4 separate regions of the Homo sapiens genome follow, and regions 2, 3 and 4 are each linked to region 1. The links are contacts of gene promoters, found by promoter capture Hi-C in blood cells and fetal thymus (Javierre and others, 2016). All regions are on one chromosome and are shown on one strand. Each heading gives the region's core, a stretch centred on a gene start or on the middle of the fragment in contact. The rest is flanking DNA. Distances are from core to core; before and after follow the strand shown. Region 1 holds the start of NANOS3 (nanos C2HC-type zinc finger 3). Region 2 overlaps TECR (trans-2,3-enoyl-CoA reductase). Region 3 overlaps CACNA1A (calcium voltage-gated channel subunit alpha1 A). Region 4 has its middle 5.3 kb from the start of DDX39A.

Region 1 (3,455 bases), core at 410-2,909:
CTTTGCCTGGCCTAAAACCCCTTTCTGAAATGTGGGTGGTAAGTTCTGCTCCGTGGAGTGCTCCATAGTTTTGTTTTTTAAATTAGAGACAGGATCTCGCTCTTGTCACCCAGGCTGGAGTGCAATGGTGTGACCTTAGCTCACTGCAGCCTCTAATAACTGGAGTCAAGCGTTGATCCTCCCGCCTCAGCCTCCCCAGTAGCCGGAACCACGGGCACGCACCACCACACCTAGCTTATTTCGAAAAAGTGTTTTTGTAGGAACAGGGTCTCAAAACGTTGCCCAGGCTGGTCTCCAACTCCTAGGTTCAAGCAATCCTCCTCGGCCTCTCAAAATGAGCCACAGTGCCTGGCCAATAAAAGTTTCTTAAATGAATGGATGGGTGGATGAGCTGTGTAAGCGGCACAGCGTCTCTCCTCTGTGTCCAAGTCCTGAGCACACCCTCCCCTCCTGGGACTGAGCTGAGATCTCATCTCGGGGAGGACACTGAAGACCTGTAGGTACTAGGGGTCCCCTCCTAACAGCCCAACTTGCTATCCCCCACCTCCCAACTCCAGAGGGTTCTTTCTCACCCCTCTGCAGCCCCCGCCAGGAAAGGGCTCCCTCCCCAGCACCTAGCCTCAGGGGGCCCCAGTAACTAGAAGAAGGAGGCAGATGTGGTGCTTTTTGTTGTTGTTGTTTTGAGACAGAGTCTTACTCTGTTTCCCAGGCTGGAGTGCAGTGGCTTGATCTTGGCTCACCGCAACCTCTGCCTCCTGGGTTCAAGCAATTCTTCTGCCTCAGCCTCCTGAGTAGCTGGGATCACAGGCACCCGCCACCATGCCCAGCTAATTTTGTGTGTGTGTGTGTGTGTGTGTGTATTTTTAGTAGAGACAGGGTTTCACCATGTTAGCCAGGCTGGTCTCGAACTCTTGACCTCAGGTGATCCGCCTGTCTTGGCCTCCCAAACTGTTGGGATGACAGGCATGAGCCACCACTCCCTGGCCTGGTGCATGTCTTTATAAATAACTGGATGGGCAGGTGGCTTCACACCTCAGTTTGCTCATCCATTCAATGGGGGTTCCACTAAGACAACCGATGTGAAAACTCTTGGAGGGAGACCAGAGCTGGGGGCCGGGGGGCATGATCCTTCCCCCCTACCCCCGCAACCAGCCCATGAGCCTGGGACTACCACACTCCTTTCAGAGACAGCTGGAGCATCAGCAACCTCCCGCCTGGACACACACACACACAAAGAACCCAGGGGCACCTGGCCACTCCCCCGCCCAGGGGAAGGAAGAAAAAGTTATAAAGAAGTTACTAAGTTAACTTCTTTAAGTTACTGGTAACTGCTAGTCTTTGGGGGTGGGGTTTCCAACCCATTCTCCCCATCCTCCAGTGGGGCTGGAGGGCTAAGGACTCCTACAAGGAGGGGAGGCAGGGTAGCCCCCCAATTCCCTGGAGGTGTGTACGGGGGGCTGTGGTGCACCTCGCAGGATGCCCCCCCACACACCCTGTGTCCTGTAGTCCCCCGGCACAGCCAGAGGCCATACAGCCCTTTAGGAGGAGTATTAGTGGGGCACCAGGCCCCCCTGTGACAATAAGGAACCTCCCACAGCCTGCTCCTCCCTCTTCACACCCCCTTGGAGGTAAAAGGAGGGTCGGCCAGCACAGACTCCCAGGCTCCAGAGAGGGGAAGGAAGGGGCAGCAGAGAGGGGTCAGAAGGAGGGAGCTTAAGCCAGGCAGGGTTACTTGTCTCTGTGACTCCTTCCGCCTGGCACATGCTGCCCAGCTATGGGGACCTTTGACCTGTGGACAGATTACCTGGGTTTGGCACACCTGGTTAGGGCTCTGAGTGGGAAAGAGGGTCCTGAAACCAGGCTGAGCCCCCAGCCAGAGCCAGAGCCAATGCTGGAGCCGGTGTCAGCCCTGGAGCCGATGCCAGCGCCGGAGTCGGTGCCAGTGCCGGGACCCAAGGATCAGAAGCGCAGCCTGGAGTCCTCGCCAGCTCCCGAACGCCTGTGCTCTTTCTGCAAACACAACGGCGAGTCCCGGGCCATCTACCAGTCCCACGTGCTGAAGGACGAGGCTGGCAGGGTGCTGTGTCCCATCCTGCGGGACTACGTGTGTCCCCAGTGCGGCGCCACACGTGAGCGCGCCCACACCCGACGCTTCTGCCCACTTACTGGCCAGGGCTACACCTCCGTCTACAGCCACACCACCCGAAACTCGGCAGGCAAGAAGCTGGTCCGGCCTGACAAGGCGAAGACACAGGACACAGGCCACCGCCGAGGAGGAGGAGGAGGAGCAGGTGCCTGCACAGGTGGCTGGGGGGGACCTGTCCGAGGGTAGTGGCTGAGCCCCCCTGTGAAGTAAGATTAGCCCCAGTACCCACCTCCAAGGGTTAGGGGAAGACCTTAGAGAGAGCTTAGAACAGCAGTTGATTTTATTTACGTATTTATTTATTTATCTTGAGACAGGTCTCTTTCTGTTGCTCAGGCTGGAGTGCAGTGGCGCCATCTCGGCTCACTGCAACCTCCACCTCCTGGATTCAAGCGATTCTCCTGCCCCAGCTTCCTGGGTAGCTGGGATTATAGGCGCGCGCCACCACACCCGGCTAATTGCCACCATGCCCGGCTAAATTTTGTATTTTTAGTAGAGATGGGGTTTCACCATGTTGGCCAGGCTGGTCTCAAAACTCCTGATCTCGTGATCCGCCCACCTCGGCCTCCCAAACTGCTGAGATTACAGGCGTGAGCACCGCACCGAGCCAGTTTGTTTATGTATTTATTTATTTATCTTGAGACAGAGTCTCTTTCTGTCACCCAGGCTGGAGTGCAGTGGCATGATCTTGGCTCACTGCAACCTCTGCCTTCCGGGTTCAAGCGATTCTTCTGCCTCAGCCTCCTGAGAAGCTGAGATTACAGGCGCCTGCCACCATGGCCAGCTAATTTTTGTATTTTTAGTAGAGATGGGGTTTCACCATGTTGGCCAGGCTGGTCTCGAACTCCCAACCTCGTGATCCACCCTCCTCAGCCTCCCAAAGTGCTGGGATTACAGGCATCAGCCACCACATCTGGCCCGCAGGGTTATTATAGATGCAGAAAGAAGACTTTTATTTTATTTATTTATCAATTTATTTTTCTTCCTTTTTTTTTTTAATTTTTTTTTTTGAGATAGAGTCTCGCTCTATCCACCCAGGCTGGATGGAGTTCAGTGGTGCGATCTTGGCTCACTGCAACCTCTGCCTCCTGGGTTCAAGCGATTCTCCTGCCTCAGCCTCCCGAGTAGCTGGAATTACAGGCGTGCACCACCATTCCTGGTGTGTTTTTTTTTTCCTCCCATAGAAACAGGGTCTTACTATGTTTCCCAGGCCGGTCTCAAACACGGCTTAGGTGATCCTCCTGCCTAGGCATCCCAAAATGCTAGGATTATAGGCGTGAGCCACCACGCCTGGCCCCAGTGAGGTTTTCTT
Region 2 (3,455 bases), core at 498-2,997, 660 kb after region 1:
TAGCCTCATATCACTGCCAAATCTCATCTGATCTGAGAGGAAAAGTTTTCCACTCTGTGGCCTAATTGAGGTGAAGCCTCTCTCTAGAACGGGTCACCTCCAGGCCTTGGCTGAAGCCGTCTTCTTAGAATACCAGAGCAGGCCTTAGCATTGTCTTGGGGTCAGAGCTAGGTCGGTAAGCGAACTGCTTATCCTAGGATACAGTATTTTTTTAATGTATTTTTTTATTTTATTGCTGTTTTTGCCACTGCAGATGAGACTCAAAGCAATGAGCCCAGCAGCAACTGGAAAAACAGCTACTACATCTTGTAATTGAGCCTGTTAATTCCTGAGAAAATCAGTCTGTCTTCAGCCTCCAGCAGTCCAGGTCACTGCCCATTTCCCGCAGCTGAATACCCAGAAGCGAGCCTCTTGGGGTCCCCCATAACCCACATTTAGGGTGTTTTCTTTCTTTTTTTTTTTTTACACAGAGTCTCGCACTCTCGCCCAGGCTGGAGTGCAGTGGCTCCATCTTGGCTCACTGTAAGCTCCGCCTCCCGGGTTCACGCCATTCTCCTGCCTCAGCCTCCCGAGTAGCTGGAACTACAGGTGCCTGCCACCATGCCTGGCTAATTTTTTGTATTTTTAGTAGAGATGAGGTTTCACCGTGTTAGCCAGGATGGTCTCGATCTCCTGACCTTATGATCCGCCCGCCTCGGCCTCCCAGGGTGCTGGGATTACAGGAGTGAGCCACCATGCCTGGCCTTTTTTTTTTTTTTTTTTTTTTTTTTTTTTGTGACAGAGTCTCGCTCTGTCACCCAGGCTGGAGTGCAGTGATGTGATCTCACCTCACTGCAACCTCCACCTCCCCGGTTCAAGCGATTTTCCTGCCTCAGCCTCCCAAGTAGCTGTTATTACAGGTGGGTGCCACCATGCCCGGCTAATTTCTGTAGTTTTAGTAGAGATGGGGTTTCACCATGTTAGTCCAGGCTGGTCTCGAACTCCTGGGCTCAAGCGATCCTCCTGCCTTGGCATCCCAAAGTGCTGGGATTATAGGTGTGAGCCACCGCACCTTGCCCAGGGGTGAGTCTTATTAGCACCTGATCAGATGGGAACTACTGTTCTACTTTACAGATAATGCAACTGAAGCTCAGAGAGGTAAACTAAGCTGGTCAAGGTCACAGAGCCTGGAAGCCAGGGAGCTGAACCTGGGTTTGTCAGACTCCAGTTTTGTCCACACTGATGGCTTCTCTGCTGATGCTGCCCTAGGACAGCTGGTGGCTCTCCTGCTGTGTTCTGAGGACAGAGCATCCCTGAAGGGAGGGCGAGGTGCTGCGGGTCAGTGTGGACTGCTGGGAGAGGGTCTTTCTCTGCCCTAAAATCGGATGGGCTGCCCCTTGCAGTAAGGGCAGGATTGAGAGTGATGAGCCTTGCCTGGGTGCAGTGGTTCATGCCTGTAATCCCAGCACGTTGGGAGGCTGAGGCAGGAGGATCACCTGAGGTCAGGAGTTCAAGACTAGCCTGGCCAACATGGCGAAACCCCCTCTCCACTAAAAATATAAAAATTGGCCGGGTGCAGTGGCTCATGCCTGTAATCCCAGCACTTTGGGAGGCCGAGGTGGGTGAATCACGAGGCCAGGAGATCGAGACCATCCTGGCTAACACAGTGAAACCCCGTCTCTACTAAAAAATAGAAAAAGTTAGCTGAGTGTGGTGGTGGGTACCTGTAGTCCCAGCTACTTGGGAGGCTGAGGCAGGAGAATGGCTTGACCCGGGAGGCGGAGCTTGCAGTGAGCCGAGATCGCGCCACTGCACTCCAGCCTGGGCGACAGAGCGAGACTCCGTCTCAAAAAAAAAAAAAAAAAAAAAAAAAAAAAAAAAAAAAATATATATATATATATATATATATATATATATATATATATATATATGTATGTATATATAAATTAGCCAGGCATCATGGTGCACTCCTGTAATCCCAGGTACTCGAGAGACTGAGGCAGGAGAATTCGTTTGAACCTGGGAGGTGGAGGTCGCGGACGAGCTGAGATCGCACCACTGCATTCCGGTCCTGGGCAACAGAGTGAGACTCTGTCTCAAAAAAAAAAAAAAAAAAAAAGGGAAAGTGGTGAGCCTTGAGCTGTGGTGAGCTATAAAGACCTTTCCTATGTTAGCCTGACTCAGGCCAAGATCCTGAGGGGGTTGGAGGGGATCTTAGGCTTTTCAGATTTTCCTGCAGGCTTCTTGCTTTGAGCAGATGGTGACTCACTGGGCAGATTCTCCTGGTGGAGTCCCTTCTGTCCTGGCTGTAGCTTTGTACTTAGGCCATTTCTTTGCTGTAGGCACTCAGAATCTCAGAGCCCCAGGCTTGAGATAATTTTTCTGGTTTAACTTCTGTAAAGTTACAGATGAGGGACCTGAGACCCAGAGAACAAGGCCTTTTCCAGGGCTGCAGGCCAGTTCCCCTTTGGGTTGGGCAGTATTGATTGATACTCTTCCTGGGAAGGTGGCAATGCTTACGGGCTTTGGATCAGTGCTAGGCTCATATGCTTAACTGCCACTGACAAGGTTTGGAGCCCACGGGCAAGGTCTTTAGTTTCTCGAGCTAGTTTTTTTTTTTTTTTTTCGTGAGACAGAGTCCCCCTCTGTTGCCCAGGCTGGAGTGCAGTGGTGCCATCTAGGCTCACTGCAACCTCTGCCTCCTGGGTTCAAGCGATTCTCCTGCCTCAGCCTCCTGAGTAGCTGGGATTACAGGCGCCCACCACCACGCCCGGCTAATTTTTGTATTTTTAGTAGAGATGGGGTTTCACCATATTGGCCAGGCTGGTCTTGAACTCCTGACCTTAAGTGATTCTCCCACCTTGGCCTCCCAGAGTGTTGGGATTACAGGCGTGAGCCACAGCGGCTGGCCTTGAACTAGCTTTTTAATCCATAAAATGACACCTGGGTGTGCGAGACCCGGCTGACATTGGCTGATGGTGTGCATCTTCCCAACTCTGTGTTCAGGGATATCAGGCTGACATCTCTAAGTCACAGGTAGGGTATTTACATCACGGAAAGTGGCAAATGCTACAGCTGAGGCCCCTTCCTCTCTCCTGCCCAATGTTCATATTGACTGGGATAATTGTCCCTGCCTCCCAGGGTTATCGTTTCAAGGGTTTCTTGGTCTGGTGAGCATCGTATGAGCAGATACATACCTGGAAAGCCTCAGCTTGGTGCAGCACCTTGCAGCAGCTAACATTTGACAAGTAGTACGGCCCTACTCACCTCTGGACCTCTGGACACGGGGCAGATGTGGGGAGGAGGGGCCGAGGAGGGGGCGGGGCCGAGGAGGAGGAGGTGGGGCTTGAGGACGGGGAGGGGTGTCGAGGAGGGGGAGGCGGGTCCCAAGGAGTAGGAGGCAGAGTTTAGCAGGAAAAGGCATGTCCTGAGGAGGAGGAGGGGGCAGGGCTGAGGTGGAGGAGGTGGTTCCTGAG
Region 3 (3,455 bases), core at 452-2,951, 590 kb before region 1:
TTAGGCTGTGTTTCTGAGCCAAATAGTTGTTTCTTTCAAAGCTTCGTGTACAAAGGGAAATGTCTACTGCGGAGGGGACCACCTCTGAGCACCGCCCCTGCCCCAGTAACCCCCCTATTCCATGTAGAGAATGTGCAACATCCATATCCTGCTAGTCTCACGCCTCCATTAGAGAATCCAGCAATTTTCAGCCCCAGTCACTCTGGGCCACCTCCACCCCACCAGGCTCACAGAGAAACTGCCTCAAGGAATGTCTTGCTCCCAAGAGCATCCCCAAGGAATCAGAGCTTCCCCTCTCAACCAGCAGCCATAAGGGCTATGCCTAGGGGTGACCCCAACATCCCACCCTACCTATGAGCATTTTGGATGCAGGAGAAAGTGGCCTGAGGCAGAGCAGCCAGGCTAGGAAGGGGTGTGCTCTGTGGGACTCACGTTGTTCCGAGGTGCGTTGGGCTGCACAGGGTCCTCGGCGGCCAGGGCGATGCTGCTCATGGCAATGACCATGAGGATGCACATCTCAAAGTAGCGCAGGTTCAGGATGTAATGGCACAGGCGGCGAAGGCTGTTGGAGACAGATGGGCGTGCAGAGGTCCACTCAGACCACAGGCTCACAAACCCTTTTCTTCCATAATCTCATGTTACCTACCACTACTGAGATCTCCAACCCCCAAGGCCTCCTACACAACAAACTATTAAACTCCTCCAGGTGGGGGCCCTCTCTGGGTCCTGGAACCCCAAGAAGGCAGAGGGGACCTCGGTGAGAGAAGACATTCACATGCCCTGTTTAGCAAAGTTCCTATCACTCCCAAACGACCCTCTTGAAGTATCTTGATCCCCAAGCTAGGTTGAAGAAATACGGTCCTTAATTCTGTAGGAGATAAAAAGGCTTTTCGATATTAAATGTCCCAGGGCCAAACAATATTGTGAATCTATGGGTTAAGTAGATTTCTTTCTTTCTTTTTAAAAATTAGCTGTGTGACCTTGGGCAAGTTACTTGTCCCCTCTGTGCCTTGGTGCCCTCATCTGTAAAATAGCCGTAATACTAGTGCTTACTTCACAAAATCATGAGACCCAAGACTTAATTTATGCCTGGCTCATGATAGGGGCTCCAAAAAGTTAGTTATTGAAATTATGAATTGCAGGCCTTATCAGAGCCTTGAATGTGCCAATGGGATGTGCCAGTTAACCTCTTAATAAGTGGAGCCAATAATAAATAGTTCATAAGGTTGTGTGAATGGCAGCAGAGCTGAGTGGTTAAGAACAAGGAGGCTAGAGCCAGTGTCTGGGCTCAAACTCCAGCTCTCCCACTGGCTTGCTGTGTGACCTTGGGCAGGTGAATTCACGTCTCTGGACCTCAGTTTTTTCATCTGTCAAATGGAGCTAAGCATAGTAACAACCTCAGAGAAATTAAAAAAAATTTTAAGGCACTCAGAACAGTGCCTGGCACTGAGTAGATACCACATAAGTGTTTCCTTAGTAAAATCGATAAGTCAACTAAATAAAAAAGTACTTTAAAGGTACTTTTATTTATTACTACCCAGGGTGAGTTGCCAAGAGGCAGATTATAGAAAGCAGCTTCTCCCCCATCTTATCTGACATGATCCTTCATTGTCAAGAAGCATTTTGAGCGGTCAGGCTTTCAAGAAATATCCCTGGGAGACATTCAATTCTAAAACAACCTCCGAGCCACTACGACATTCATGGGATAAATTTCTCCCCTAAATAGTCTATCCATTTCAAAGATGCCCAAGACAGAAGGCCATGGAACTCAGACACTATCCGCCCAGAATCTAAACCCTTACAGAGTCTAGGTTAGAAACAGAGTTCAGGTCCTAGGGCTGCCACGTGCAGTTGTTCAGGCTGTGTACTGCACAAGGCAGCCATTTCTAAGGGGGTGCCTCTTACATCACAGTGAAGATTTGTTTATTTATGACAAATTTATTTGTTGTTTAGGACAAATTTATTTGTTTATTTATGACAAATTTGTTTATTTATTGTCATAAATAACAATGATTTTCTAGTGGATGGCAGGACAGGGGTCTCTTCCAACAAAGTATATTGTGACAAATCATCTTACCTGACTTACGGAAGGAGCATCCATTTTCAACTTGTTCAAAGGTATCCCTGGACTCATGGTGGTCAACACTCACTCATTGCCCTCTATCTGGCCTGACTTCCGCCACCCTGGTGGGAGCCCCAGGCCCCCCCTGCCCTTGCTGGGGGCCATACTCACGGGTTGGTCGTGGACAGGATGAACATGGAGCTATAGGGAGGCATTGGCTTAGGGCCGTCTTCCCCACGGTCGTCTTCCTCCTCCTCCTTCTTCTCTTCCTCTTTTTTTGGCAGTGGGTCTGGGTTGGCGTTTTTGTTCACTGTTGGGACAAGAACCAACACAGGGCTCCCTCCACAATTTCCCACAAGTCTCTGGGAACTCCTGTGTACTCCCAGGGCAGGCAAGAAGCGGCTGACATTTCTAAAGTGCCTGCTGTATATACCAGGCATCTTATGACATCACTGAACCCTTGTATAGCCCTGAGGTTGATATATTCTGATCTCCTGTTTACAGATGAGGAAATTGAGGCACAGAGAAGTAAAGTGACTTGTCTAAGGTCACACAGCAGGAAGTGGCAGAGCTGGCATTTGGAACCCAGGCGGCCTGGCCCCCGAGAGCCTGCTCTCAACCACTCTATAGCCTTGAGTGCGGTGGGGCCCTCATGGGATATTAACACAGACCTGCCCCTATCCTCGTTGGACCTTCACACCCTCACTTGCAGGCAGGTAGGGAGAGTGCCAAGAGACCCACTGAACAGATAGAAATACTGAGACCTCCCATAAACTGCATGGCATGCCCCCATTAGCACCCCTCTCTTGACTCAGGGGGAGGAGCCATCAGCCTCTGGAGCTTCCATTCTGCAGCCCAGCCTGCTTATGTGCCCACGGGCAGGCTGAGCCTCTCTGAGCCTCAGTCCCTACATCTATAAAATGGGCACAGTGACAAGACCTTAGGATCTTAGGTCTCAGGACCATGGAAAGCCTTTATCCAGCAAACTCATGAAAATCTCTCACATAGAACTGACACTAGATGAACTTAAGACATAATCCACCCAGCAGTTCACCATTTTTTTTTTTTTTTTTTTTTTTTGAGACAGTCTCGCTTTGTCACCCAGGCTGCAGTACAGAGGTGCCATCTTGGCTCACTCTACCTCGGCCTCCTGAAGTACTGGGATTACAGGCATGAGCCAGTACATCTGGCCCCTTTTTTAATGTGGCGACTAGAGAGTTTAAACTGACATTTGCATGTGGCCTGTGTTACATTTCTTTTGGACAGTGCTGGGCCGAGAGAATCAATCATCTGACCCCCTCAAGCTTCCATCAGAGGACCCTATTGCTCCTCAAATGGGGTGGCTTCCTGGCTCCCCTTGGGAAGGAAGGACGTAGAAGATATTGCTAACCCG
Region 4 (3,455 bases), core at 715-3,214, 550 kb after region 1:
CATTCCCAGCACTTTGGGAGGCCAAGGCGGGTGGATCACGAGGTCAGGAGTTCGAGAGCAGCCTGGCCAACATGGTGAAACACTGTCTGTACTAAAAATACAAAAATTAGCCGGGCATGGTGGTGCGCACCTGTAATACCAGCTACTCAGGAGGCTGAGGCAGGAGAATCACTTGAACCCAGGAGGCGGAGGTTGCAATGAGCCGAGATCCTGCCATTGCACTCCAGCCTGGGCAACAGAGTGAGACTCCATCTCAAAAAAAAAACCTAGATGGTATGGCTACTACACGTGTAGGCTATGTGGTATAGCCCAGCAGTCCCCAACCTTTTTGGCACCAGGGACCTGAATGATGGAAGACAATTTTTCCATGGACGTAAGGAGGGTGGATGGTTCTGGGATGAAATTGTTCCACCTCAGATCATCAGGCATTAGTTAGATTCTCATAAGGAATGGGCAACCTCGATCCCTCACATGCACAGTTCACAATAGGGTTGAGCTGCTATGAGAATCTAATGCTGTTGCTGATCTGAGAGGAGGCAGAGCTCAGGCTGTAGGTAATGCTCACCCATCACTCACCTCCTGCTGTGTGGCCTGGTCCCTGACAGGCCACAAGGCCAGGGAGGGGTGGGGGTGGGGACCCCTGCTATATAAAGCCTACTGCTCCTAGGCTACCAACCCGGACAGTGTGTAACTGTCTGAATACTGTAGGCAATTGCAACACAATGCTAAGTATTTGTTTTGTTGTTTTTACCTTCATCTTCTTTGTGATGTTACAATGGTAGGTATTTGGATATCTATACATATCAAAACATAGAAAAGGTACTGGGTGTAGTGGCTCACACATGTAATCCCAGAACTTTGGAAGGCTGAGGCAGGAAGTTCAAGACTAGCTTGGGCAATGTGGTGAGACCTCTTCTCTACCAAAGGAAAAAAAAAAAGCTAAAAAGCTACTTCATATAAATTTCCTTTCATTTCCCTTTTTATTTTTCCCATTTACTTTTTTTTTTTTTTTTTTTTTTTTTGAGACGGAGTTTCACTCTTGTTCCCCAGGCTGGAGTGCAGTGGCACGATCTCGGCTAACTGCAACCACCACCTCTCGGGTTTAAGCGATTCTTCTGCCTCAGCCTTCCGAGTAGCTGGGATTACAGGCACCTGCCACCATGCCCGACTAATTTTTATTTTTTTTCAAACAGGGTCTGGGCCAGGCACAGTGGCTCACGCCTGTAATCCCAGCACTTTGGGAACCGAGGCGGGTGAATCACCTGAGGTCAAGAGTTCAAGACCAGCCTGGCTAAAATGGAGAAAACTCGTCTCTACTAAAACTACAAAAATTATCTGGGCATGGTGGCAGGCACCTGTAATCCCAGCTACTCAGTTGTCTGAGGCAGAATAATCTTGTGAACCTGGGAGGTGGAGGCTGCAGTGAGCTGAGATCACACCACTGCACTCCAGCCTGGGCGACAGAGCGAGACTCCGTTTCAAAAAATAAAATTACATGATATAAATAAAAAGAAAAAAATAAACAGTCTGGCTTTCACTCGGGCCATAGTGCCAGGTGAGATCTCAGCTCACTGTAACCTCCACCTCCTTGGCCCACTAATTTTTGTATTTCTTAGAAGAAATGAGGTTTTGCCATGTTGTCCAGGCTGCTCTGGAACTCCTGAGCTCAAGCAATCTTCCCGCCTCTGCCTCCCCAAAGTGCTAGGATTATAGGCATGAGCCACCCCGCCCAGCCTCCTTTACTTTATACATTTTTTCACTTTATATATATATGTGTGTGTGTGTGTGTGTGTGTGTTTGATACAAATGGTATCAGACTGCATCATTTTGTTCCTTTCTTTCTCTTTAGTATCATTAAAAAATAACTAGAAGCTGGGCCCAGTGGCTCCTGCCTGTAATCCCAGCACTTTGGGAAGCTGAGGTGGGTGGATCACTTGAGGTCAGGAGCTCAAGACCAGCCTGGCCAACATGGTGAAACCCCATCTCTACTAAAAACACAAAAAATTAGCCAGGCGCGGTGGCACACGCCTGTAATCCCAGCTACTCAGGAGGCTGAGACAGGAGAATTGCTTAAACCTGGGAGGCAGAGGTTGCAGTGAGCCGAGATCGTGCCATTACACTTCAAACTGGGTGACAGAGCAAGATTTTGTCTCAATAATAATAATAATAATAACTAAAGATGATGCTCTCCCTATGCTGCCCAGGCTGGTCTAGAACTCCTGTCCTCTGCAATCCTCCCACCTCTGCCTCCCAAAGTACTGGGACTACAGGCCTGAGGCACTACGCTTAGTCCTTTTTTTTTTTTTTTTGAGAGAGTCTTGCTCTGTCGCCCAGACTGGAGTGCAGTGGCATGATTTCGGCTCACTGCAACCTCTGCCTCCCAGGTTCAAGCGATTCTCCTGCCTCAGCCTCCCGAGTAGCTGGGACTACAGGCGCCCACCACCACGCCTGACTAATTTTTATATTTTTGGTAGAGACAGGGTTTCACCATATTGGCCAGGCTGCTCTCCAACTCCTGACATTGTGATCCTCCCGTCTCGGCCTTCCAAAGTGCTTGGATTACAGGCATAAGCCACCGCGCCTGGCCTTTTTTTGTATTTTTAGTAGAGACGGGGTTTCACTGTGTTAGCCAGGACGGTCTCAATCTCCTGGCCTCGTGATCCACCCACCTCGGCCTTCCAAAGTGCTGGGATTACAGGCGTGAGCCACCGTGCCCAGCCTACCTTGCAGTTTTCTAGCTTGTCTTTCCCAAGTTTACTCCAGTACCTGCCCTTCAGGGAAGCCTACACTGACTGCTTCCTCTGAAGTGCGACAGCTACCCCCTCCAGCCTTTGCAGTCTGGGATACCTTTCGCCTGATACCTCATACTGTGCCCACTCATTCCTTTCACAAAGACGGACGTAGCACAGGCTCTGTGCAATTTCAGGGAGGAGTAACATGCAAAATAATCAAACAGGGCCAAGGGCCAGAAATGACGTCGGTGTGGTCTAGGAAGATTGCTCAGAAGATGTTACATTTAAACAGATAACTAAATGAGCAAAAGGGGCCAGCCCTGGAAAGATGTGATAGAAAAGCATTCCAGAACAGATAACAGCCAGTGCAAGGGCCATGTGGTTGGAAGTAAGGTGAGACTATTTGTTTTTGTTTGTTTTTTTTTTGACGGTGGGAGGTGGTTTGTTTTTTTGTTTCTTTGGTCTCACTCTGTTGCCCAGGCTGGAATGCAGTAGCATGATTTTTGTTTTTTATTTGAAACGGAGTCTTGCTCTATCACCCAGGCCAGAGTGCATGGCACTGTCTCGGCTCACTGCAACCTCTGCCTCCTGGGTTCAAACAGTTCTCTGCCTCAGCCACCCAAGTAGCTGGGATTACAGGTGCCCACCACAACACCCAGATAATTTTTGTATTTTTAGTAGAGATGGGGTTTCACCATCTTGGCCAGGCTGGTCTTGAACTCC

The links. The method cuts DNA at HindIII sites, captures the fragments that hold promoters and counts their contacts. A CHiCAGO score of 5 or more calls a contact.
Region 2: a contact is called between a fragment that was not itself captured here and the fragment with the promoter of NANOS3 in region 1, in 1 of 17 cell types (non-activated CD4 T cells). The highest score is 5.2, in non-activated CD4 T cells.
Region 3: a fragment that was not itself captured here is called in contact with the fragment with the promoter of NANOS3 in region 1 in 1 of 17 cell types (total B cells); the score reaches 7.0 in total B cells.
Region 4: a fragment that was not itself captured here is called in contact with the fragment with the promoter of NANOS3 in region 1 in 4 of 17 cell types (total B cells, fetal thymus, naive CD8 T cells and 1 more); the score reaches 6.3 in total B cells.

The regions. Positions count from the first base shown.
Region 1 is chr19:13,875,475-13,878,929 of GRCh38, forward strand. It overlaps NANOS3 (nanos C2HC-type zinc finger 3), which reads left to right and starts at 1,660. Exons shown (of 2, transcript NM_001098622.3): 1 at 1,660-2,291. The coding sequence starts at 1,775. The HindIII fragment of the contact is 10,444 bases long and covers 1-3,455 here.
Region 2 is chr19:14,533,680-14,537,134 of GRCh38, forward strand. All of the region lies in intron 1 of TECR (trans-2,3-enoyl-CoA reductase), which reads left to right. It also overlaps a transcript of DNAJB1 not described here. Among named protein-coding and RNA genes, the nearest start is that of TECR, 5.8 kb to the left of the region's middle. The HindIII fragment of the contact is 5,775 bases long and covers 1-3,455 here.
Region 3 is chr19:13,282,835-13,286,289 of GRCh38, forward strand. It overlaps CACNA1A (calcium voltage-gated channel subunit alpha1 A), which reads right to left. Exons shown (of 47, transcript NM_001127222.2): 21 at 2,234-2,372; 22 at 433-562. Among named protein-coding and RNA genes, the nearest start is that of IER2, 130 kb to the left of the region's middle. The HindIII fragment of the contact is 3,325 bases long and covers 40-3,364 here.
Region 4 is chr19:14,422,945-14,426,399 of GRCh38, forward strand. No RefSeq gene overlaps it. Among named protein-coding and RNA genes, the nearest start is that of DDX39A, 5.3 kb to the left of the region's middle. The HindIII fragment of the contact is 8,906 bases long and covers 1-3,455 here.